Linked DNA regions of Homo sapiens: regions 2, 3 and 4 are each linked to region 1. Evidence: promoter capture Hi-C in human tissues and cell types (Jung and others, 2019). All regions are on one chromosome and are shown on one strand. The core of a region is centred on a gene start or on the middle of the fragment in contact, and the rest is flanking DNA. Distances in the headings are between cores, read along the strand shown. Region 1 holds the start of CTBP2 (C-terminal binding protein 2). Region 2 holds the start of ZRANB1 (zinc finger RANBP2-type containing 1). Region 3 has its middle 180 kb from the start of CTBP2. Region 4 has its middle 160 kb from the start of CTBP2.

What was found. Contacts are between HindIII fragments. The study calls those that stand out against the background at their distance.
Region 2: a contact is called between the fragment with the promoter of ZRANB1 here and the fragment with the promoter of CTBP2 in region 1, in 1 of the 25 tissues and cell types used here (adrenal gland).
Region 3: a contact is called between a fragment that was not itself captured here and the fragment with the promoter of CTBP2 in region 1, in 1 of the 25 tissues and cell types used here (stomach).
Region 4: a contact is called between a fragment that was not itself captured here and the fragment with the promoter of CTBP2 in region 1, in 1 of the 25 tissues and cell types used here (spleen).

What each region holds. Positions count from the first base shown.
Region 1 is chr10:125,158,788-125,162,244 of GRCh38, reverse strand. It overlaps CTBP2 (C-terminal binding protein 2), which reads left to right and starts at 1,682. Exons shown (of 11, transcript NM_001329.4): 1 at 1,682-1,926. RefSeq lists an enhancer at 302-911. The HindIII fragment of the contact is 19,174 bases long and covers 1-3,457 here.
Region 2 is chr10:124,940,587-124,944,043 of GRCh38, reverse strand. It overlaps ZRANB1 (zinc finger RANBP2-type containing 1), which reads right to left and starts at 1,921. Exons shown (of 9, transcript NM_017580.3): 1 at 737-1,921. The coding sequence starts at 1,550. The HindIII fragment of the contact is 6,128 bases long and covers 1-3,457 here.
Region 3 is chr10:125,340,820-125,344,276 of GRCh38, reverse strand. No RefSeq gene overlaps it. Among named protein-coding and RNA genes, the nearest start is that of CTBP2, 180 kb to the right of the region's middle. The HindIII fragment of the contact is 7,936 bases long and covers 1-3,457 here.
Region 4 is chr10:125,315,394-125,318,850 of GRCh38, reverse strand. No RefSeq gene overlaps it. Among named protein-coding and RNA genes, the nearest start is that of CTBP2, 160 kb to the right of the region's middle. The HindIII fragment of the contact is 4,069 bases long and covers 1-3,457 here.

The DNA of each region.
Region 1 (3,457 bases), core at 433-2,932:
TCCCTGCGGCCTCCAAAGGCGGGACCTCAGACCCCTCCCACTCCTTTCCTGCTCGACATCTCAATCCAGCTCCTAATATCTCAATAGGGTTTTTAAACAAATCGATCCTAAGGGCTCAGTTCAGCCCACCCAGGGATTCTTGGAGGACGCACGCCGAACTCAGGGTAGTGAGAAGAGTTTGGGGGGCCCTGGGGCGCAGGGAGAAGACCCCACACTCCACGGCCACCAGCTCCCTTCCGGAGACGGCGCTCGGACGTCGCGGGTCACGGGCGGGGAATTTAGCCCAGGTGCTCGTTGGGCCGCGAGCGGCCGCTGGGCCTGGATTCCCAGGCTCGCTGTGCAGACTCCAACCTTGAGACGTCAGGACGGCGTGGGCTCCGGGCCGCCGCGCAAGCCCAGGACCCCGAGTCGCGGGCCCCCACGCCGCAGCGCGCCTCCCTCCTCGAGACCCGGGGCTCCGACCCAACACAGGGCTTCTCAAATGCCCCGGCGAGATCCAGGCAGCAAGAGGGAACCTTTTTTTTTTTTTTCAATGTGTAAGAATGTTTTGCTTCTTTTAGGGCACAGCACTGCTGCAACTTGCAGCACAGAGGGCCCTTCCCTGCGCACCCACAGCGGTCGCCGCCTCTCCGGCACGGTCTCCCGGATCTGGATTTGGGGAGCGCAAGTGCCCCCTGTGGCCGGCCCGCGCCTGACCCCGCGGGCCTGAGAAGGCAGAAGCGGCCGGTGCGGGGCACCAGGAGGAAGTTGGAGCCCGGGGGCCGGGAAGGGGGCTGGTTGGCGCCGCTGGCTGGGCGGGGCCCCATGGGACCGGGGCCACCCGGGGCTCGCGTTCCCCCACGTGGCCGGCTGCCCGGTACCCCACGTGGAAGGGGCGGAGGAGGATGAAGGGCCAGGGGAGCAGCGGACCCCGAGCCACCGCGACAGGACCTCGGCCCCTGCCACCGAGGCCCCCGCGCCTCCCGAGGGCCTCCCGGGCGGGGCCGGGCTAGGGAGTGCCCGCCGCGCCCGGCCCCTGGCCCTCCCGCCCGCCGCGCTTGTGTGCACTTTCGCGGAGCCACTAATCCCCCGAGAGAGCCGATTTGTAGTGAGGAGTATCTGAAGGGGGCGAGGCCGGCCCATGTGGGGTTGTGTCATTGGTTTGCAAAAAGAGACCCCGCCTTTGCCCCCCCCCCCCAAAAACAGGAGCGAGGAGTGAGCGAGCGGCGACCCTCACCTCGCCTCCCGCCTAGCTCCTGCGCAGCCAGCGGGTACCGGGAGCTGCGGCCAGCGCCGCTTCTTTCCTTTCCTTTTCTCTCCGTTTTCCTTCTCCTTCCCCGGAGGAGAAAACAAATAAAGAAGAGCAAATAGCCGGGAGGCGCTCGGCATCCAGGACGTTCCCTCCCCCGATCCAAGTTGGAATTAGCATCCTCTCGGGGGTGAGCGCGGCGCGGGGCGGGCCCGGGCCGGGGACCCCCAGCGCAGCCCCCTCTCGGCGGGCGGGAGGGCGCGGGGCCGGGACGCGGGGGGAATTGGGAACCGGGTGGGCGGAGGAAGGGGGTGGGGTGGGTGGGGAAGTAGGAAGAGGCTCGGCGGCGAGGGGAGGAGGTGGAAGGGAAGGGAGGGGTAGGGTGGGGAGGGGAGGGGAGCGGAGGGAGGGTGGGGAGGGCGGGAGGGGGAGGGGCGGGGAGCTGGAGAGATTAAGTTTTTGTGTGTGTGTCCCTGTGTGCGTGTGTCATTTTAAGGTGGCTCGGGAGCGGCCCGGAGGAGCCGGCGGCGGCCCGAGGAGCGAGGGACCGAACCGGGAGCCATGCCGCGCTGAGGGGGGGCCGCACAGCCGCCGCCACCGCCACCGCCGCCGGGTGGGGTGGGAGGGGCGGGAGACGCCGCCGCCGCCGCCTCCAGGGTGGGCGCCTTTCGCCGTGGACGCCGACCGTCCGGGACGAGGTAAGGGGGGCCCCGGGGGAGGGCTGGGGCCGCCGCCGCCCCCGCCTCACCTGCGGCCGCGGGCTGGGGGCGCCGCGCCCGCGCCTCACTGCGCCACTCAGGGAGGAGGAGGAGGAGGAGGAAGAGGGCGAAGGACGCGGAGCCGGCATCCGAGGACATCTTTGGTCCGTGCCCCCGGCCTCGTGTCCCCCCTCGGCGCCCGGGGGTGGACGCTGGCTCGGGGGTCCCCGCCCGCCCCCGCCACCGATTGCGCCCGCTGGCCGCCGTTTGCGCCAGGATTTTTGTTGTTGTGATGAGAGTTGATGAATGCGAAGTAGGCGGTCACCTTCCTTCCCATCAGGGTTGAAAAAAAAAAAAAAAGAAACCCCGAGCGCGGCGGCGTCCGGAGGGCAGCGGCGGCGGCGGCGGCGGCGTCTCGGCGACGGTTCCCTGGGCGCCCCCGGCTCCTGCTCCCTGAGCCCGGTGGGTGCGCGCCCGGGGGCCGCCGGCGACCCAGGCCGAGCGCGCGACGCGCCGCGGGGACAATACGGCCGGATCTCCGGGGAACAGGAGTCCGAGCGCGCCGGGGTGCGGCGGGCCTTGCGCCTACGAGGCGAGGGTGGGGGGGGCGCGGAGAAGAGGGGTTCCGTGGGGAAGTCGGGGCGTGAGCGGCTCTCGGTCCCCAGGGGCGCTGCCCCTGCCGGCGGGGGATCCCGCGCGGCTCCCCGGGAGCGCAAGTGAAAGACGGGAAAGGAGGCGAAGTGGAACCCTTTTGTTTTGCCGGCCCCGCATTGTTGGCTCCTCCGGGCAGCCGGGCCACATCTGCTGCCGCTGCCGCCGCCGCCACTGCCGCGCGGGGCTCGGCCCGCCAAAGTCGCGGCGGGGCGGGGGGCCTGGGCGGGCCGGGCGGCGGGCGCGGGCGGGGGCCGGGCGGGCCGGGCATTTCCTCTGCCCGGCCGCGCTCCCGCGGGCACCACTTCCTCCTCGCCCGCCGCCGCCGGGAGCCCGGCCCGCCCGCCTCCCCCACCTTCCCCGCCCGGGCCGCACTTTTCGGGTGGGGCGAATCAAAAAGAAAAAGTTTAGCAGGAGGGGCTGGCTAGGGCGCGCCCCGGGCGGCAGGGACCCGGTGCGGCGCAGGGACAGCCGGGCCGCCGCGGTTCCTCCTCCTCCCAGCCCTCCGCGGCGCCGGACGGCCCCGCGCGGCCGAGGGGAAGCGCCTTTCTTTCTCTCCCTCGCGCTGCCCCCAGCGCCCCGGGCGAGTTGGGCAGAGGCGCGCGGGAGCCGGGGCGTGCCTGGGCCTTTCTCCCGCGGGAGGCCCAGCGGCGTGGCGGGTCGCCTGCAGCCCACGCCGCGCCCTGGGGCTCGGAGGCCGCGGGCCCAAGAGCTCAGCTCGGTCACCGCGGGCCGCGCCGAGACACACACGCGCGCACACACTCCCTCCCGTGGCTCGCTTTCCGCCGGCGACGACGGTCGCGGACACGGAGTGAGCGTGTGCGCGCGAGTGTTTGTGGTTGTCCCCCCTCCCCCCGCCCGGTACTTTTTCCGGAGGCGG
Region 2 (3,457 bases), core at 672-3,171, 220 kb after region 1:
ATAACTTGAAGTATGGAATCAGCTGGCTACATGTAATCAGTTCCATAAAGTTTGCAAACATTTACTACATGACATTCATGTTAAATTAACACCAGTATTTTCAAGGTCAATATGTTTGTTCAACTTCTTGGAGTCACACATTTTTGTGGTATTTTTAACATCTGACTAAAGCTTCTATCATCACAAGATGCTCACACTGTTTACAAATACTTGGAAACAGCAGCTGGTGTTCCTCAGTTACATCTTGTTACAATAAACAGAGTAGCAGTTTTAAAGTCCAGGTATATATTTTACTGCTGATGTGTAAAAACTTTGCTTTAACTTAAACGTTTCCACTGCCCCCAGTAATGGAGAGACATGAACACAATTAATTGTGGGCAATTTAGTACAAAGTTACGACAAGATCACAAATACACAAATTTTTATGTATGCATACTTGAAAGTACAGCTATCGTGCTGAATGAATCAAATGCTAGTGACTTTGCGCATATATATATACACACACACACACACACTCACATTTTTGCATGTGCGTGGAGACACAGTCTCACTATGTTACCCAAGCTGGAGTGCAAGTGCTATTCACAGACCGATCATGGCATACTACAGCCTCAAACTCCTGGTTTCAAGCAAGTGGCTAAGACCACAAACGTGTGTCAGCGCACCCAGCTCTTTTCATATCATTTTTACTACCTTTTCCCATCCCACGCAAAAAATGCAGAATACAGAAACTTACCCACACAAGCATTGAGGAAGAGCCAATCAGTCTTTTTCATCCTGTTTTTAATTTGCTTTAGTTTTTTAAAGTCTACTTCAAGTTCCTCCTTGCTTCCCACAGCACCAGCCAATTCAATCCTCTGAAAATCCATTTTCACTTCAGAGTCCCGCTTCGTAGCAGGAGGTGATCTCCTTTGGCTATTACCACTACTGCAACTTCCCCTCCATCGAGCTCTGTCTTGCTCATTTATTATTGAAGAAGCCTCTTCAGTCTCTGCCAATTCTATTGCTTCAATGTTATTAGGTCTGGGATGATCACAAACAACACATCTTTTAGCCTTGGCCCAGTTTTCATATGTGCAAACAGAGCAAGTCCAGTGCTGTGTCCTAGTGTTCAGTTTATTTCTATCATTGTATTCCTCACAAGGATCAACAGAAAAAGCAACTGGTCTTGAGCCAGATCCTGAGGACTGAGGAGATTCTGTAGGACTCCTGGTCCTACGTTGGGATAAGCACTGGGTACATCTGATTGCTCTTGGCCAGTTCAAATATGTACACATGTGGCATGACCACTTATTTGCATTTTCCATGCTATACGAAGATTTCACCCTTGGTCTTGCACTAGAGTCTGGACATATCAAAGGACTACTTCCTCCTTCGGTGCTGGAAGGATCCCAATCTCTACCAACATCACTTGAACCACTTTTAAATGGATCTTCTGTAATAATTGTTCCACTAGGTCTTTGGGCACGACACATAGTACACTTGATTGCAGATGGCCAGTTTTCATACGTACAATATTCACAAGCCCACTTAATTCCACGTTCTGACATTGTGCACTTCTTGAAGTGAGCTGTGTCAGGCAGGAAGCTATAAATAATTAGGACATGGTTATTAAAATAACTACATTCCACCTCCAAAAATACGCTGCCCAAAAAGCAAGTCCTTCAACCTACAAAATATAAATTTCTCAAAAGATGCATGCAACATTTCGACATTGAATTATCCTAATTTTCTTTTTTAATTTCCATAGAAACACTGGAGATAAATTCTCAAAGAAAAAATCTTAGACCCTGGGATTTAATAAAACTGAACTTTGGAATGCAAAAGAGATAGGCAGGAGATATAACGAGGTTTGATCTAAGAAGGATGAGATTAACGGGAAGCCACTAATAGAAATGTTTAATTTCAGGGAGGCCATCACATCAATTTAGAAAAGTAACCAATAGTTTAAAGAGACAAAGGTAGAGGAAACAACACAAACTAAAAAATAGCTTAAACACATAACCATTCTCAAATTATGAACACAGATTATGATTCATGAATTCAGAAGATCAAGCAACGTCTATTTTATCATTCTCGCTAAGGGAGAAAAGCAACTTAAAATGCTAATTATCCACTGTTCTTAATTAGCACAGGTAGTAAAGAAACATGTTGAGAAGTAATGGCTACAATTAACAAAGTAACATTATGAAATAGGTAGTTCCTTGATAATCTGTAGCCTCAAAATCTAGTTCTATCTGGAGTAAAAAAAAGAAGACTGTACTGGGGAAAATTAAATCTGTGGAAGGTCACTGAAATAACCAGTAGCATAATCATTCCAATATAATTGTGAATGTTCATAATTAAAATATTTTAAATTTTGAATATTTAAAATATACTCAAAATCTAATTCATGGCCGGGGGCAGTAGCTCAAGCCTATAATCCCAGCATTTTGGGAGGCTGAGGCGGGTAGATCACAAGGTCAGGAGTTCAAGACCAGCCTGGCCAAGATGGTAAAGCCCCGTCTCTATAAAAATACAAAAATTAGCCGTGCATGGTGGTAGGTGCCTGTAATCCCAGCTACTCAGGAGGCTGAGGCAGAGAACTGCTTGAACCCGGCAGGCAGAGGTTGCAGTGAGCTAAGATCGCACCACTGCACTCTAGCCTGGGTGACAGAGTGAGACTCCATCCCCTGCCCCCCAAAAAATCCAATTCATATTTAAAAGATATTCACACTACTTAAAAGATTTCTAGGATTCAACAATGGGCTAACACTACACTATAATGAAGAAAGACTTCATAATTTAATGGCAACTAATTCATAAATGAAGCAACTTACATAACAAATTTAATTTTTTTTTTTTTAATGGCTTGAATTTAGACACTGGCCACTTTTCCTAAATACTTTTATCAACTCAGTATCATCCCAACACCTATTTTTCACCCGGAAAGAGAAAGAAATCCTAGGCAGAGTATAGAAGCTTTGCTCTCTCTTTCTCAGGGATTTTTCCTGAACCTAGAGGGTTAAATCTTTTGTTTGTTTGTTTTTTTGTTGTTGTTGTTTTCATTTTTGTTTTTTTGAGATGGAGTCTTGCTATGTTTTGCCCAGGCTGGAATGCAGTGGAGTGGTGCAATCTAAGCTCACTGCAACCTCCACCTCCCAGGTTCAAGCGATTCTCCTGCCTCAGCCTCCCAAGTAGCCGAGATTACAGGTGCATGCCACCATGCCCGGCTAATTTTTGTATTTTTAGTAGAGATAGGGTTTCAGCATCTTGGCCGGGCTTCTCTTGATGAACTCCTGACCTCGTGATCCACCCACCTCGACCTCCCAAAGTGCTAGGATTACAGGCATGAACCACCACGCCTGGCCTAAATCTTTCACTTTTGAAGTATACTGTATTATGTTCCTGCCTGCCAAGTCCATACACCATTTATAGTGTGAACTCTGCTAAGAAGAAAAAAAAATCACTATAAGAA
Region 3 (3,457 bases), core at 570-3,069, 180 kb before region 1:
GGAGGAAAAAAGAGCAATAATGGGAAAAAAAATCTGCTTTCTGCCTAACACATGATTCAGCTGACAGCACAAAGAATCAGATAATTCTACAGGAAATTGACAAGCTAGATAGTGATTGGGATGTAGCTGTAGTGTTCTTCTCTAAGTACCCGCGATATTACTGTCTGATGCTTAACATTCACAAACCATTAGACCCAACATGTATATTTATGGTTTGATAATCAGCTGTCATTAACAGATGAATAAACAACATAATGTTCATGTTTAGAAGGAATGTACAAATGGAAGAAATACTGCCAACAACCCAAGAACATTTACCTTGATTCCCTCCACGAAAAATAAAGAGGAACAAATCTCTGTAATTTTAATAGTTAAATCATATCTGCTATTCTGTCTTATCTTGGCTGCCAGAGCTTCAGACAGATTTCTCTTTTTCACATAAAATTTACCATGTCAACCCGGCTTATCTGTTAGGAGAAGTTGCATTAAATTTACTAGATTAGAGATCATCATTCTGTGGCCCTGTCTCCATAGTCAGCCCACAATAGAGTTGATGTAAACAAACACGTTCAGCAATGTCTTTCAGGCTGATAAAATTATTCAGTACTTTTAGTTGTTCTACTTATTAGCTTAGGCAAGTCACTTAACCTCTTTGTAGCTCGAAGTTTTTCACTGCGATACAAAAATAATGCTATCTACTCTAACTACCTCATTGGTTATAATAATGGACCCAGAAGAAGTGTGTCAAGTAAAACTCTAAACATGAGAGTATTTTGTGGAAGACAATGTGACTATAGCATCTTAATTCCAGTGCGATGGGAAATTTACGTACAAATACATCTGCTTTGGGTTTAGTGGCTGGGGGGTCTCCTATGCTACAGGCCTTTTAAAACTCAACAATACTGGCATCCACATTCATAGCAGCATTACCCACGATAGCCAGAAGGTGGAAGCACCTCAAGCTTCCCTCCACGGATAAGTGGATGAACAAAATGTGGTTTATTCACACAATGGAATATTATTCAGCCTTTAAAAGGAAGGACGTTCTGACCCATGCTGTGACATATATGAACCTTAGGACCATATGCTCTCCAAAAAGCCAGCCACAAAAAGGCAAATTCCGTATGGTTTCACTTACATGAGGTACTTCAAGTTGTAAATTCCTACAGATAGAAAGTAGAATGATGGTTGCCAGGGGCTGAGGGGAGCAGCGAGCAGGGAGTTGTTATTTAATAGGCATAGAGCTGAAGTTTTGTAAAATAAAAAGAGCTCTGGAGATTGGTTGCACACAGTGGGAATGCACTTAATGCTACTAAACTATACGCTTAAAATGATTAACGTGATAAAGTTTATGGTGTATTTTACAATAAAAAATTAAGGTTTGCTGGATGTGGTGGCTCACAACTGTAATCCCAACACTTTGGGAGGCCAGGGCAGGAGGATCACCTCAACCCAGGAGTTTGAGACTGGCCTGGGCAAGGTGGTGAGACTCCCATCTCCACAAAAAAACTTTTTAAAATTAGCCAACTGGAGGCATGGACCTGTAGTTCCGGCTACTCAGGAGGCTGAAGTGGGAGGAGCTCTTGAGCCAAAGAGACTGAAGCTGCAATGAGCCATGATCACGCCACTGCACTCCTGCCTGGGTGACAGAGCACAACCTTATCTCAAAAAAAATTTTTTTTTAATTAAAAAAGAGTAATGAATCAATTTAAAAGAAAACCTCGACATTATCCCCCCAGGTCAAGATTGCAGACTGCTTCCTAGCATTTGTCTCCTTTCTCCTGAGACTCCATTAAAATAAGAGTAAAGGAAAAGGAATTTTTTAAATGTAGGAGCCCACACCAAAGAAAATAAAACAAAGGAAACCATCAGAGAATACATGATTTGAACCAATTTCCAGATGATGTAAAGGTGATCGGGGAGTCCTGGCTGCTGAAACAGAGCAAAGACAGGTGGATCCTAGACAGGAGTTGTGCACAGAAGAGGTCAGTCTGCCCAGAAGTGTCCCCAGAGTCTGCAGACTTGAAAACTGCAGATCTCCAGTGGGCAGCAGTGAGAAGTTGGGCATTTGTTAAAAGCCTCTATTCTGAATGGTCCAGCCCATACACACTCACACATCCCATTCTCTGCAGGCCCATCTGTGGTCAGCCAGACATCATTACCTAGGAGGAAAACCTAGAGTTCTTCTCTGAACAAATCTATGTAAAACTCTAGGGTGAACCAAGGCAGCTAGTGAGAGCGCTCTTGGCCCAGAACAGAGGCCTCCTCACTTGGTGCATGGGACCAACCCATCCTGGAAGTTGGCCCTCGGTCCCCTGCACCCCAGTGAATGCTGAGCCTTCAGGTCAACAAGCCCTAAATGTGCCTCAGGCCCCAAGTAGGCATTTGCATTTTCTTATCTTTAAATATACCAGACGTGAGAGGAGAATCCGGACTACGAAAGAGAAAGATAAATAAACAACAACATCAGCAAAAATGACTCTGCAAGAAACAGAGACAACTGAAGAAATAGACAAGGAGTTTTTTAAAACACCCTCTAATATCCTCCAAGAGATTTGAGATTATAGTGTTTCTTTAGAATAAGAAAAAGATATAATTTTTAAAAAAGAACAAGAATTACAGATACGTAACCAAAATAGAGCTGAAATAATATAATAAATGAAATAAAAATGGAATAAAAAGACAAGGGATAGAAGATGATGCCAAGAAAATCTTGTGAAATAAAGAGAAAAAAGGGCAGAGAAATAGGATGTTCAAGAGAAAAGTTAATAAATAGAAAAGGTTGATCCAGGAGATCCAATATTCATTTTAAAATGTTCTAGAAAGAGAGACTAGAAAAAGCAGAAAGGATGAAGACCAAAGAAATAATGAGGGAAAAAATTCCTAGAGCAAAAAGGAGAAGCGAGACTTCAAATTAAAAGCATGATAGTGAAAAAGACCACAGCTAGACATACCAAGTGGATATTCTCCATAGACTAACCCAAAAGAATTTCCCTTTTTTCCTGCTAGCAGTTCTCCACATTTGCAGCTTAGGTAGCAGGCAGAGATCCTATGACATCAGGAATGGCACGCCCCTCTCAGCCCCAGGGAATCAACTATAACTGATCTTAACCAATCCTAATAAATTCCATTCTCTTCTACCAATGAGTGTCTAGGAGTCAACATGTAGCCAGGTTCTGGCCAAAGAAATGTTCAAGAGATGTGTAATAAGGAGCTGTTCTTTCACAACAAAACTCCAAGCCTCATAAAGAGAAGTGATATTCTCTGCAATGGTGCAAGGAATGATGTCGGAGCCATCTTTCAACCACGAGGCAACAAGCCAAGGATAACAAGATTCTGTTCCTTCCACATCCTTCATAAGGCGGGACAGACAGAAAGGGCCTGAGCCCTTGATGAAACCACTGAAGTGGTGCGTCTAATCTGGGACCACCTACTTCTTACAAATATTGCTTAAGCC
Region 4 (3,457 bases), core at 365-2,864, 160 kb before region 1:
AAAGCTTACTTTAAATAAAAACATATATTAAACTCATAACAAAATGATCCATTTGATAAAATAATAGCCAAAAAACAAAAACTTTCAGAAATTAAAAATATTATGGGCTAGGTGTGGTGGCTTACACCTGTAATCCCAGCACTTTGGGAGGCTGAGGCCCAGCCTGGGCAACATTGGAAAACCCCATCTCTACAAAAAATACAAAAATTAGCCAGGCGTAGTGGTTCACACCTGTAGTCACAGCTACTAGGGAGACTGGGGTGGGAGGATCACTTGAGCCCAGAAGGTCAAGTCTACAGTGCAACATGAGCATGCCACTGCACTCCAGCCTGGGCATCAGAGTGAGACCCTGTCTCAAAAAAAGTTATTATGCAAAAAAAATTCAGTGGACCACCGGAATAATACAATGAGCATGGCTAAACCTCAGACTGATAGGCTGGAATAGGGATCAGCAAACTTTTTCTGTAAAGGACCAGATAGTTAATACTTTAGGCATTGTGGGTCATACAGTCTCTGGACAGCTACTCAACTTTGCCTTTGGAGCGAACATAGACAATATGTAAATAAATGGGCATGGCTTGTGTTTCAACAAAACTTTATAGATTAATTATGAAATTTGAATTTCATGTAATTTTCACCTGCCATGAAGCATTATTATTTCTTTTATTTTTTTCAACTTTTCTTTTAAGTTTATAAAGAAAATAGGTTTAATTGACTCACAGTTCTGCAGGCTGTACAGGAGGCATGGCTGGAGAGGCCTCAGGAAACTTACAATCGTGGCAGAAGGCAAAGGGGAAGCAAGCACTTCTTCATGTGGCCAGCAGAGAAACATGGATGGCAGGAGAGAGTCAACCATTTAAAATCCATTATTAACTCAAGGGTCATACAAAAATAGGCAGTGGGCCAGATGTGCCCCATTGGCTGTAGTTTACAGACCCTTGGTCTACAAGATCTAGCCAAGGAAAACTTACACAATTTATGGCTGAGACAAACAGAAAATCAGAAAAAAAGAAATAAGTATGATAGACCCAAAAGGTAAAATATTCATTTAGTTAGCATTCCAGAAGCAGAGGAAAGAGAGTAAATAAAAGTGAAAGCAGTGCCCAGGGGACAAGTGAAAGAAGGTCCACACCTAGATATTTTTGGTGACATTTCAGAACTCTAGAGATAAAGAGGAAATTCCACACTGTTCCAGAGAGAAAAAAGCATTTTACCTGGTTAACCTTGAGAGTCAGACTGAACTCAGACACAGTAAATCGTGGAAGATGGTGGGAAAAGGTCTTAAAGTTCTTAGAAATTGTTTTGGAGCCGAGAAGTCCATGCATAGCCAAACTGTCAGTGAAATGTGAGGGCGAATAAAGATACCTTTGGAAATGTAAGGAATCAACAGTATCTCTGGTGTAACACGAAGATCTTGAGACAGCTTAATTCTTGATTCCCTGGGAATCAGTATGGGCATGTTTCTTTTTTTTTTTTTTATGGTTTCCTTTTTATTTTTTTATTATACTTTAAGTTCTAGGGTACATGTGCACAACGTGCAGGTTTGTTACATATGTATACATGTGCCATGTTGGTGTGCTGCACCCATTAACTCATCATTTACATTAGGTATATCTCCTAATGCTATCCCTCCCACCTCCCCCCACCCCACAACAGGCCCCGGTGTGTGATGTTCCCCTTCCTGTGTCCATGTGTTCTCATTATTCAATTCAGTATGGGCATGTTTCTTAAGTGCACTGCTGTGATGGAGACGTTTAGAATTGCAGACACGGTTCGCTGCTTGCACTACAACTATGACTTCCCACTCACTTTGCTAACAAACCCCAATTTTCTTGAAAATAAGATGGCAATGTACTTCAGGCAGACAGTTCAGAAGGTTAACTATTAATTAGTCTAAACTATTCATCCATTCTCCTTGCTATTGGATCAGTCGGGGGTAGGCATGTGATGAAATTCTGCCTCTGAGATATTAGGGGAAACTTCTGGAAAGCTCCTGAGCAAGATTTTCCTTGCAGATAAAAAGAAACACACAGGAGAAAAGGGCTCTTCCTCTCCTGCTCACGCTGCTGTGTCTGCCCAAGAAGCAGGGAGCTGGGACACCTATCTGTACCATCAGGTGACAAGCCTGCGAACAATAGGCAACATGAGGCTATGACACAGTGGAAAAATAGAAAGCACCTGGGTCTTTGATAATATCTGAGCTGCTTAATTAATCCACCCTTGAACCAGTCTACCTCCAGAATTCCTGGTACATGAGATAATAACATTTCCTTTGTTTAAGTCACTTTTAGTTGGATTTTCTGTTATTTCCAACCAAAAGCATTCAATTGATAGAAGTGATGAAGTAAGACTGGACAGCATTTATCCACCCACATATTTGTAAAACTATGCCTGTCTGACCAGACGTGGTGGCTCATGCCTGTAATCCCAGCACTTTGGGAGGCTGCTGCAGGAGGATTGCTTGAGGCCAGGAGTTCAAGACCAGCCTGGGAAACATAGCAAGACCTTATCTCTAGAATAAATAAATAACAATAAAAATTTTAAAACTATGCCTCTCAGACCTAAACTAGGCCCATAGAAGGGCAACAAAATGATGAAGGGATGCTGGGGCTACTGAGGAGGACAGGCTGCTAGTTTGGGGCCTCTCTGGTCTAGAAAGAAAAAAAATCTGAGAGTAAAATGGTCAAAATCCATTAAGGCAAAGTATCATTGGTAAGATCAGGATGGACTTGAATGTCAGATGCTGAAAAGTTGGAGCAGCAAAAGCCTCACTGCAAAACCCAAGCCCTGCATGAGGGTAGGACATGAATATTGGTTGCCTGAGCTCTAGAGAAACAGTAGCTAAATTACAAAGACCTCTCAGGACTTACAACCACTTCCATCCAGACAGGACTTAGGTAGAACAACAGGAAGATTCTCTGCACACTGCCTGTAAGCACCTGGTTGGCATTCATTCACCTTACAGAAGCTGCTCATTCTAGGATCTGCATGGCTAGAATAAGGATATCAAGCACCAGCCCATTGTCATGGGGCCACTCGCCTAGGCTATTCAGTATCCAGTATACACACAAACAACTCAACTCAAAGCCATTTCCTCAAGGATCTTCTAGTCACGACTGAAGCCATCAGAAGACAGGCAGATGGGCTTTGATTTTTCAGTAATACTCCTTGAGAACTCACCAGATTTGTCAAGAAAAGGGCATGACTTCATGGTCATCATGACCATCAAAGTGAAATCATTTTGTGCTTATATACCAACCAGTGCAGTGATTCTCAACCCTGGAGGCATCCTACAATCACCTGGAAATTCTGATTTAATTTGTCCAGAGTAGAGCCTGGGCAAAGGTTTTTGTTAATAGCTCACCCAGTGATATTAATGTGTTTCACAAGAGAAAACCCTTTTTGCTAGGAGATAGGCCATGCGAGTTAAATGTGTGGGCAGGGGTAGGCTGTGGTT